Linked DNA regions of Homo sapiens: regions 2 and 3 are each linked to region 1. Evidence: promoter capture Hi-C in 16 types of primary human blood cells and fetal thymus (Javierre and others, 2016). All regions are on one chromosome and are shown on one strand. Each heading gives the region's core, a stretch centred on a gene start or on the middle of the fragment in contact. The rest is flanking DNA. Distances are from core to core; before and after follow the strand shown.

Region 1 (3,887 bases), core at 613-3,112:
TTCAGTTTTATGAGATAACAGCATGGGTTCTGGACAAGGCTGGTTTCTTCGGCAAAGGCTCAGAAGTGGGCCTTGGTTAACTAAGCTTTGGGCACAGTCTTGAAATTATTAGTGATTTCCTTTTTGAATTTGAGTTTTGTAAGTGAAGTCTAGTGGGATAATGGAACATGTGCCAAGGCCTTGTTGTCTCAGGTCATGTGTGGTCCTGTCCCCAAAAGCTCCTCAGGTGGATTCTCTGGTTTCCTGCTCTCCTGTCTCCACCCAGCAACTGCTGCCACCTTGCTCCAGTGTATACACTCCTACCTGAGTCTTGGGGCAGGGGTCTCAGGCACCTTTGAGGGTCTGCCCTGACAACCTAATGTCTCTGTGCTTTAGGGAGCATCGTATTAAATAGTAAATTAACAAACACCATGATGAGTCAAGAGACGCTATGGAAGAAACTTTTTTTTTTTTTTGAGACGAAGTTTCACTCTTGTTGCCCAGTCTGGAGTGATCTTGGCTCACGGCAACCTCCGCCTCCCAGGTTCAAGTGATTCTCCTGCCTCAGCCTCCCGAGTAGCTGGGATTACAAGCATGCGTCACCACGGTCGGCTAATTTTGTATTTTTAGTAGAGACGGGGTTTCTCCACGTTGGTCAGGCTGGTCTCGAACTCCCGACCTCAGGTGATCCGCCCGCCTAGGCTTCCTAAAGTACTGGGATTACAGGCATGAGCCACCACCCTCCGCCGGAAGAAACGTTTTTCCTGCATTTTGAATAAAGGGGCCTGGATTTTCATTTTGCACTGTACCCCAGGTATTATGTAGCTGGACTTGAAGTCCTGTAGCAGTGGACAGTCCCAGGCAAGTGACTCTGGGCGAGGCACTTGGTGCCTCTGAAGTCACTTTCCACATCTGTAAAATAATAGTTCAGAGCAGAGTAGGGTGGCTCACTCCTGTAGTCCTAGTTATTTGGAAGGCTGAGGTGAGAGGATGGCTTGAGCCCAAGAGTTTGAGGCTGCAGTGAGCTATGACTGTGCCACTGCACACCAGCCTGGATGACAAAGAGAGACTGGGTCTCTAACAAAATAATATTAATAAAAGGAAAATAATTTCTATCTTGTTGGATTTCTGTGGAGATTTGGAGCTAATTTATGTAAAGCTCTTGGACCACCATTTGACACATTTTAATGGTCAATACTAGAAGGTGTTGACAATTATATATTACCTAATTCAAACACACTCCCTTACGTCTCCTATGCTTGCCGGCTAATAAACAGCCATTCCCACAGGCAGTACCAAATGTGTATCCTGGTTTTGCTTCAAATGTTTATTCCCTAAATTTAAACCCTTCTATAGTGTGCAGGAAAAAAATGTCCGCACCTCAGCTATAATGTCAGGTTGTAACAAAAAACTGCGAGGATTTAAAAAGGTGTGCTTGTTAGAAAAGCAGAAATCTTCACAAATACTAGATTTAAAAAAATGGAAGCAAAAAATCGTTCATTCAAGTGATCATTTCAGAAGAGCTCTTTCACCGCCGTTCAGCGCCCCCCTAGCCATTAGAGAGAAAAACCAAGGCCGGTACAATGCGAGCGCAGTGTACCAAGGGAACACACACACACACACACACACACACACACACACACACACACACACACAAACCGAATCTTGAAAAACTAGACGTTGCCCAGCTACCAGCCCCCGTCTGGTTTCCATAGGAACGCGCAATTCCGTTGCGTAGCCCTCTGCGCCGGTAGTTGTTCTGTCTCAGTTCCGGTTTTCCCTTCCAAGCGTCAATGTTTCTTGTTCCCAGGCGGCAGCTAGAGCAGAAGGCGGATGAGTTTTGGACAGAAGAGGCTTCCGTTGAGGGGCGTGGCGACGCAGCCGCGGTCTGAGAGACCGGTTCACGTGCAGGCAGCGGCGGATCATATTCCTTCATCTACCATGGCTCAGCCGGGAACTCTGAACCTCAATAACGAGGTGAGCGCCGAGGAACCTATGGGGCTGACTTTAAGGGTCCTCAAAACCAGCTCTTTTGAGACGCGTGGTCGGAGGCGGGCATAGAGGGTGCGGTTGGAGGAACTTTCGTGGTGGGCCCAGGCGGGTTTCCCGCAACTTGGAGTTTGGCAACCGGTAATTTCCCTTTTCGGTCTCCAGGTGACTAAAGTGAGAGACATGTGTCAGGCCCCACGAATTTATGTCTGTGGGACTTTGGGAAGAACCTTTAGCCTGTACGTTCAATATTCTCGTCTGTAAAGCGGAACTCAAGATAGTTCGTCCCAGGGTTGTGAGATTAACTGAGATACGTAAAGTATTTGCAAGTGCCTGACCCTTAATAAACTTTCAGTACACATTACCTGCTCTTTATTGCCTGTCGAAAATGAAAGAGAGAAAGTAAGAGCTGTAGCTTCTAAGAAATTGGTGGTCTTGAATGAGACTGTATGCTCAGTACTTCGTTTCCTCTTCCAGTTAGTGTCCTATTTCTTTGCTTCCGTTTACAGCAGAACTTCAATAAAGAGCTGTTTATACTTGCTATCCTCAATTCTTTTTTCTGCTTTTTCAGTCCATTCTCATCAGACATTTGTTCTCACCACCGTCACTTCCATAGTGTGCGGTGTCGACAAAATACCATTTCTACCACTTATCCCCCTCTGGTTTCTGCTTCTATTCAACAAAATAATGTCATCCAAAGTCTTAAAGTAAGCTGGAAACATAAGGATCGAGTAAGGACCTCACAGTTAGATACAGAAAGGAAATTCTTTATCCCGTTTATGAGCAAGTCACTGTTTAGATTACACACAGTAGTGTAAGGGATATTTCATATTTTCTAGTAACCTATACTCAAGTAAGAGAGCTAAGCAACACTCACCTGTGTTACAGAACAATGTGTGAAGAATGCCTCCAAAACCTAGTAATGCAGAAAAGTTTCCAAAGGCGGCAAAATGAAATGGGTGATACTTGTCCTTGGTCTTTAGGGATCTTGCACAGGAATTGCAGTCAGTGATTCAGGAAAGGGGAAGAAGTCATTCCAGGCAGAGGGACTGGTATAAGCAGGAAAGGGCTAGTAGCAGAAGAACCCGTGGGTAATACAGGGATAAGTAACTCTTCACTGATGGGAACTTGTGAGATGAAGAAGGAAATAAAACTGAAATATATTCTCTGCTGCCAGATTAACGAGTCAGGATTTCAGTTGACAGTGGAGTACAGGATATGCTGAAGAGGGAAGCTGAAAGTAGTTACTATTTACTCATAAACATACATTAAGCTTGTGCTTTGTGCCAGAAAGCGTTTGGTGGGCTATTTTGCATTAGGTTACCTGTGATGTATGAAAGATCAGAGTAATGTCCCTGGGATTTCAACCCCAGGGAGCTTCATATCAAATTTTGTAATGACTTTGATGATGGAAATGACAGGGGATGAGTCATTAAAGACTCTTTTCACACTTAGCTAACTTTTGTTCTTCTTCAAAACAGTTAAAATTTGACCTTTAGGAAACCTTCATTAACTCCTCTCGGTCTGGGTTAGGTGTCTGTTCTTTGTGCACCCAGATTGCTTTCTCCTCTGGAAACACTTATGTAACTGTTTCTGTCTTCCTGTGTTTATGTGTCTATCATGTGTAGCACATATGTTTACTAGGTGATTACATGAATTTGTGAAAGCAGGAACTACACACATCCACCACTGAAGTCTAGTGTGTTCTAATGTGAAGGAGATAAAAAGGACAGAAAAAAGTGGAGATGATGGAGGATATTATAATTTAAAATTAGTGGGAAAAAAAACCCACAAAAGGAAAGAGAGATTTATCTACATAAAAATTGAATAACCTACCAAAGAAAAGAAATGACAACCAACTAGAAAAAAAAAATACAGCAGATATGACAAAGGGCTAATGCCCTTAATAGGAAATACCT
Region 2 (3,887 bases), core at 599-3,098, 4.8 Mb after region 1:
AGGCAATTCTCCTGCCTCAGCCTCCCAGGTAGCTGGGATTACAGGCACACCCCACCATGCCCTGCTAATTTTTGTATTTTTTATAGAGACAGGGCTTCATTTTGGCCAGGCTTGCCTCAAACTCCTGACCTCAGGTGATCCACTTGCCTCGGCCTCCCAAAATGCTGGGATTACAGGCATGGCCCACCATGCCCGGCAATAATTTTGGTATTATTAAGGCTTCTCTGTGTAACTACTGTTAATAATTATTTGGATGAGAGAAATACTGACCTTTAAAATATAATTATTGGGCAAAATATATCCAAATGAACTATAATTTTATAATGTAGAACTCCATTTAAAAAAAAGTGGTTATTTAGAGGCCGGGTGCAGCAGCTCATGCCTGTAATCCCAGCATCTTGGGAAGCTGAGGCTGGCAGATCACTTGAGGCCAGGTGTTCGAGACCAGCCTGGCCAAAATAGGCAAACCCTATCTCTACTACAAATACAAAAAATTATCTCGGCCTAGTACCGCATGCCTGTAATCCCAGCTACTTGGGAGGCTGAGGCATGAGAACCACTTGAAACCAGGAGGCAGAGGTTGCAATGAGCCGAGATCGCCCCACTGCGCTCCAGCCTAGGTGATGGTGAGATGCCATCTCAAAAAAAAAAAAAAGTGATATTTAGAGAAAAAGAAACTTCAGTTTGAACCTCAGCTTGTTTTTTGTTTTTGTTGTTTTTGAGACGGAGTTTCACTCTTGTTGCCCAGGCTGGAGTGCAATGGCACAATCTCGGCTCACTGCAACCTCTGCCTCCTGGGTTCAAGTGATTCTCCTTCCTCAGCCCCCTGAGTAGCTGGGATTACAGGCATGCGCCTCCATGCCTGGATAATTTTTTTGTATTTTTAGTAGAGACGGGGTTTCTCCATGTTGGTCAGGCAGGTCTTGAACTCCCAACATCAGGTGATCCGCCCACCTCAGCCTCCCAGAGTGCTGGGATTACAGGCATGAGCCACCACGCCCGGCCTGTTTGTTTGTTTTTTTGATACAAGGTCTCTCTCTGTCACCCAGGCTGGAGTGCAGTGGTGCGGTCTCGGCTCACTGCAACCTCCACCTCCTGAGTTCAAGTGATTCTCCTGCCTGAGCCTCTCGAGTAGGTGGGACTACAGGCATTGCGCCACCATGCCCAGCTTAAGTTTTTGTATTTTTTGGTAAAGACGAGGTTTTACCATGTTGGCAAGGCTGGTCTCGAACTCCTGACCTCAAGTGATCCGCCAGCCTTGGCCTTCCAAAGTGCTGGGATTACAGGCATGAGCCACCGTGCCCGGCCCTGAACCTCAGTTTTTTGGTAGTTGGTTTTATAAACTGAAATAATTTTTATGCAAAATATTAGGGAGGCCGTTATTTATTGTTACCTCTATGTAACAAAATGGGAGGTACTTGCAAGCTTGGGGTCAATTAGTTCTTACTAATATCAGGGGAGTTTCAGTATCATGCATTGGGTTATAACATTACTTTTTAAAATAACCTTTTCTTCTCATTTAGTGTAATTTGATTTTCTTTTTTTTTTTGAGACTGGGTCTTGGTCTACTGCCCAGCTGCAGTACAGTTGTGCAGTCATGGCTCACTGCAGCCTCAACCTCCTGGGCTCAAGCGATGTCCCCGCCTAAGCCTCCCAAGTAGCTGGGACTACAAATGTGTGCCACTGTGCCAGGCTCTTTTTTTTTTTTTTTTTTTTGTAGATTTGGGGTCTTGCTATGTTGCCTAGGTTGGTCTTGAATTCCTGGTCTCAAGTGATCCTCCCACATCAGCCTCTCAAAGTGATGTGATTACAGACGTAAGCCACTGCGCTCAGCATGATATCCTGACTTACAGTTCCTGTATGTTTTGGCTTATAATATGCATTATATTTAAAAAATGAATTTTCATTTCTTCAAAAATATCCTGTGTTAGTGTGCCTCTTTATAGAACAAGGGGGACATGCAGTCTCACTCAAGGACAAGCAGGATTCTGGTACATTGGTCTTTAATATGGACGTCTTTGACCCATAGTTATTAGTAATCATGTGACATTGAAAGAGAATGTTAGCCAACAAAAACTCTAGATCCAGTGCTTGTGAATTGCTTCTCTAATTTTGATAGGTGATGGGAGCCTTTATTTAAACTACTTCTTTTGTTTGTCCCTTCAGCAGAGAGGGAGAAGACCTCAAGTCATCAGTATGGTTTGATGTCTTATGCTTTTTAAATCTGTTCCAGCTATGCTAAGAAGGAATCTGATCTTAATGGCGCCCAGATCAAGCTTCGAGAATATGAAGCAGCACTGAATTCGAAAGATGCAGCTCTTGCTACTGCACTTGGTGACAAAAAAAGTTTAGAGGGAGATTTGGAGGATCTGAAGGATCAGATTGCCCAGGTAAGGTCAAGCCTACTCTTGAGCCGTATGTGACAGGTTAATTGCCTCATCTGCCTTAAGCCATAGTTTGATTGATTGATTGATTTTCAAATGTATTTTATTTTTGAAATTTTATATATTTGTTTTCTGATGGTTTACTTGAAGAAAAGTCTTGAGGTAGCTAACATGCAAAACATTATCACCTCCCAGGCATTATATCTGGATTGGCCAGATCTTGTGGTTCCCTTCTTCTTCCCTATTGTGCACACACTCATTCTGTCTCTGCTCTCAAAGCCTATTTTGTTAGTTAGGAAATAAGTAAGAAAAGAGATGCCAAAATGCTGCTCTCCACACAGGAAAAAATGAAAGTGGTTAGCTAAAATAACTAGTTTGATTTTTGAAATGTGAGTGAGTCATACGTCTCTGTTCTATTCCCTGTTGCCAATTAACAATTTGACTGGTCGTTTGGTATGATACTCTGTGGGTGGGACCAGCAAATGAATACCCAGTTCTGTGATAAATGTTAAGATGAAGTAATTATACATTGATAAATATATAGGAATTTTAACACTTGATTTGATTTGATTCATAGATATCTTATGTTCATTATTAAATGATTGCCATGTAATTTTTATCACAATTCTTTTTCCTTGTAATAGTTGGAAGCCTCCTTAGCTGCAGCCAAAAAACAGTTAGCAGATGAAACTTTACTTAAAGTAGATTTGGAGAATCGTTGTCAGAGCCTTACTGAGGACTTGGAGTTTCGCAAAAGCATGTATGAAGAGGTAACTATATATAATTTTGCTTTGTAAAGGAATGGAGGGGTTCTAGAATGACTTTGTCATAGCTAAACATGTAATTATATTTTATTTATGATTTCTTTGCCACAAAAATATATCAGATAAAGAAATAATAAGGTTTGGGGATGGGGAGAAATTTTGCAGGTAGATTATTCAAGCTACTGCTGCTAAAAGACCGCATTTGAGAACTCAAGCTGTTACCGTAAACAGATATGATTTCACTTCATCTTACTTATTTTTGTTTTTTTGTTTTTGTTTTTTTGAGACGGAGTCTTGCTCTGCCGCCAGGCTGGAGTACAGTGGCACGATCTCGGCTCCTTTCAACCTCTGCCTCCTGGGTTCAAGCAGTTCTCCTGCCTCAGCCTCCCGAGTAGCTGGAACTACAGGCGTGCGCCACCACGCCCAGCTAATTTTTGTATTCTTAGTAGAGACGGGATTTCACCATATTGGCCAGGGTGGTCTCGATCTCCTGACCTCGTGATCCGCCCACCTTGGCCTCCCAAAGTGCTGGGATTACAGGTGTGAGCCACCACATCCGGCCTCACTTCATCTTAACTTATAAAGGCTTGGTCACAGCAGCTAATTACTGTCAACATGTTTAAGCATTAGTTATCTATTCCTGCCTAACAAATTACTTCCAAAGTTCATCAACCTAAAACCACAGACTTGTATTAATTTCTTAGTTCCTGAAGGTCAGAATTCAGAGCTGCTAAACTGG
Region 3 (3,887 bases), core at 1,388-3,887, 4.6 Mb after region 1:
TGTGGAAGTGGTATTTTTCTGCCCAAGGATACTTTTGATTGTGTATAATGGAACCCTAGGCCATACTTCTATCCATAATTAAAGTAGAGGAAAGATGTGCTTCATGCTTTACACAAAGACGTATCTTGGCTGATAAAAAAAAAAAGCTTCATCCAACCCAGGGCTCTGTTGGACAGGCTGCTACTCTGCAATCCACCCCAACCCCACCCAACCCCCCTTGCAATCACTCACTCAGAGAAAATACTGCAGCTCAGTAGTCCCTCAGCAGTCCCACACCCAACAGCACAGGGTTTAACTCAAATGTATTGAGGCTTTTCCTGTGCCAGGCTCTCCAGTAAGCACTTTAAATGATTAACTCATTTAACCCTCCCAGGAGACAGGCACCCCCAGTCTTTTCTTTTTACAAGACAAAGCACACTGAGGATGGGGGTAGTGGAAAGGTTGGGAAATCAGGCTATCCTAGTTCGCCTTTACTCTCCCCTTCTCAGGAGCCTAGCTCCCACCTAGTGACAAGTCAGTGTGGCCAGCCCAGCACCAGTCACAGTTCCCACATTTGCTCATTTAACCAATGGTGGAGACTCAGAGACCAAGGAGGCTGACTCTGCCTCACAGCCTGATTAGACAGTCAAGGAACATGAGCCTCTGGCCCTGAGAAAGGGATGCTGCCACTGCTCTTTTTTTTTTTTTTTTTTTTGAGATGGAGTCTCACTCTGTCGCCCAGGCTGGATGGAGTGCAGTGATGCTATCTTGGCTCACTGCAGCCTCCGCCTCCCAAGCTCAAGCAATTCTCCTGCCTCAGCCTCCTGAGTAGGCTGGATTACACGCGCCACCACATTCGGCTAATTTTTGTATTTTTACTAGAGACAGGGTTTCACCATGTTGGCCAGGCTGGTCTCGAACTCCTGACCTCAGATGATCCACCCGCCTCAGCCTCCTGAAGTGGTGGGATCACAAGCATGAGCCACCAGGTGCGATCTGCTGTTGTTCTTTAAACCAGGAATGCTGACCTATTGCTGAGATACTCCCAGACAAATCTGGCAGGGGGATAGAGGAGGAGCAAACAAATATTTCTGGCATAGATCTTCTATTCATTTTCTATTTAATTATAAATTCAAGTAATTTCAGTGAAGAATAGTGTTCACAGCTCAAGTTTATACTATACCAGCACAAAGTTTTAATTCATTTAAATTTATCCATTCAATGAATGGCAAGTACAAAAAAGGCACTACCCTAGAAATATGGCAGAGGTGTTTCCAAAACAGCAGGAGCCCTAGTACAGTATCACAGCCCCCAAGGAGCTCACATTTTAACAAGGCGGCACTGACCTGCTTATCAGATGTTTATGTATCTCATTGGTTACAATAGGCAAAGTGATCTTTTCTGAATTCTAGAAACAAAGGCCATACTTACATCTGCCCAGATTTTCCATGCTTCTCTTGCTTTCTTTACAGTTTCTTCATAGTCTGCCACACTGGCCTAAATTAAGAATTAGGGGGACAGAAAGGGGGAAATAAAGAGAAATGATGATGATCTTCTAGAACACAAAAATATTTTCAGAAAAGAGTTGGGAAATCTCTAGGGTTCCCTAACATTTATGGCTGAGAATGATTCCCACAGTCTATACTTCCAAAAACTAGCTAGAACCCGGTAAAACAGGTTGGTATCCAACTATGCTTTAAAACCTTGCTTTTCAAAGCAAAATCTGTCAGCTTCATCTGGGAACATGTAAGGCATATTAGAAATGCAGAACCTTGAGCTCCAACCCAGACTTCGGAAATCAGAAGCTTCATTCTAACAAAATCCTCAGGTACTTCAGAAGCACTGCCTTAAATGGCCCCCTGCCTAATCTTTCTACGCTTCACCTTTTCTATGGTTCTTTCCTTTTCACGCCCCCACCCAAGAGAGGACAGTCTCCCCCAGACAGTCCTAAATGACAAATGAAAAATAAACACATTATTCTCTTCATTTGTGATTTTATATTATTCTTGACCTGCCTAACTGGCTTCTGCCTCTAAAGAAAGCCTGCACAAACTCCTTGTGTATAATTTGAATTAAACACACACACACACACACACACACACACACACACACTCTTACCTGTCGGACTCTTGCTATTGGCTCGTTGTTAGCAGGGCAATAGGTCGTAATAACCTTAAAACAAAAGGATGATGATCATGTATAGAAAACGTAATCCCTTTTGAAGTAAGGGAATAGACCAAACGGGGAAGAAAAACAAGAGAGGAAAAAATGATATAATACCCAAACTCAAAAAGCTTAGGTTAACTTCTGTTACATATAAACCACTCTACAGAGGTTGTCTTTCATTTCTGACTTAAACATTAGAAACTACCTTTCTGCAAAACTCGCCTCTGACATCTCAATATTAGGCATATAAACAAAAGCCTTAACATAAGCAGTTATTTTGTCTCTTTTTCCATTAATAACAGACCAAACTGACTAGTTTTAGTTATTTCTTCTCTTCCTTACTCTGCCCACCCTCTGCTCAGAGATGAAATGGCCAAGGCAGGAAAACTGTTGGAAAGTCCCGTGTCCACACCAACTGGAGAGGTCTCAGGTCAACAATGAAAGGGAAAATCAAGGCACAGCTAAAAAGGCCTCCAAGAGCCTAATGATCAGATACCACACGGAAATCAGGATGAAACACCGAGGTCTGAGGAGCAATTAAAATTATCTGTATCTCCTACAGCCACTGATTACCAAAAGACGTGTTCCCTCTACCAAGGCAGGTTCATTATATAATATACAACGTCCAACAAAGTTTGTTAACTGTTACATAACATCCTCCTATAAAAAACTTTCTTTTAAAAAAAAATCTGGGCGATAATAACCTTACCTTTCCATTGTATTCTATAAAACATTGTTTTGAGCAGTAATGGGTATCAGGCGCGGTGTTAAGCCCTGGGCAATGGAGAAATGCTGAAAATCCAGTCCTCAAAGGAGTTCACAGCCCAACGTACAACATGGCAAGATTTCGGCACGTCCAAGCTTGCAAACTCCCAAAGAATTCAGGAAGGAAGATAACTTAAAACTACACTGAAGAACGTTACCTGCGGTGCACGTCACAGCTGAAGAGCCAGAGTTAAGCTCTAAATTAAGATCAGTTGCACCGCTCAGTGTGCCACATTTCTCACAAGACCATAGATCCCAAGACCATAAGGTTTTAATTTTTTTTTTTTTTTTTTTTTTTGAGACGGAATTTCGCTCTTGTTGCTCAGGCTGGAGTGCAATGGCACGATCTCGGCTCACTACGACCTCCACCTCCCGGGTTCAAGCGATTCTCCTGCCTCAGCCTCCCTAGTAGCTGGGATTACAGGCATGCGCCACCACGCCCGGCTATTTTGTATTTTTTTTAGTAGAGACAAGGTTTCTCCATGTCGGTCAGGCTGGTCTTGAACTCGCTACCTCAGGTGATCCGCCCGCCTAGGCCTCCCAAAGTGCTGGGATTACAGGGGTGAGCCACCGCGCCCGGTAGACCATAATGTTTTAAATATGCGCGGGAAGTTTAGCCCCTACAGCTCCAAAATGACGTCGATTCTGCATAGCACACAAGGACCTAAAATCTAAGTTTTTGTTTTAAAGGCACCCTACACGAGAAAACTTTTACTGTGGAGCTTCAAAATCTCCCATGCTACTACCGCATCCAGCGCCAGCGGGGAGTCGGTAGGTCAGTGCCCGCCCGGCCTCCTCGAGCGAGCCCCGGCGGCTGCAGAGATTTCTTGAGCGCCCGCGTACCTCTCCCCGGCCTCCCCAGCTTCCATTATACACGCCCTCGTTTTCCTCGCGGAGCCCCAGCTCTTTCAGCCACGCATACTGGGGCTGATTGATGAGGAGAGTGGACATGAAGGCGGCAGGCCTGCTCCAAGGTC

What was found. Contacts are between HindIII fragments. The CHiCAGO score rates a contact against its expected background, and 5 or more counts as called.
Region 2: a fragment that was not itself captured here is called in contact with the fragment with the promoter of SRFBP1 in region 1 in 1 of 17 cell types (total B cells); the score reaches 5.1 in total B cells.
Region 3: a contact is called between a fragment that was not itself captured here and the fragment with the promoter of SRFBP1 in region 1, in 1 of 17 cell types (total B cells). The highest score is 10.8, in total B cells.

The regions. Positions count from the first base shown.
Region 1 is chr5:121,960,113-121,963,999 of GRCh38, forward strand. It overlaps SRFBP1 (serum response factor binding protein 1), which reads left to right and starts at 1,863. Exons shown (of 8, transcript NM_152546.3): 1 at 1,863-1,956. The coding sequence starts at 1,921. RefSeq lists enhancers at 1,516-2,054, 1,799-1,848. The HindIII fragment of the contact is 3,156 bases long and covers 84-3,239 here.
Region 2 is chr5:126,802,543-126,806,429 of GRCh38, forward strand. It overlaps LMNB1 (lamin B1), which reads left to right. Exons shown (of 11, transcript NM_005573.4): 2 at 2,234-2,390; 3 at 3,029-3,154. Among named protein-coding and RNA genes, the nearest start is that of LMNB1, 27 kb to the left of the region's middle. The HindIII fragment of the contact is 851 bases long and covers 1,424-2,274 here.
Region 3 is chr5:126,591,254-126,595,140 of GRCh38, forward strand. ALDH7A1 (aldehyde dehydrogenase 7 family member A1) reads right to left here. Exons shown (of 18, transcript NM_001182.5): 1 at 3,754-3,887; 2 at 2,098-2,151; 3 at 1,411-1,476. Among named protein-coding and RNA genes, the nearest start is that of ALDH7A1, 2.0 kb to the right of the region's middle. The HindIII fragment of the contact is 733 bases long and covers 2,272-3,004 here.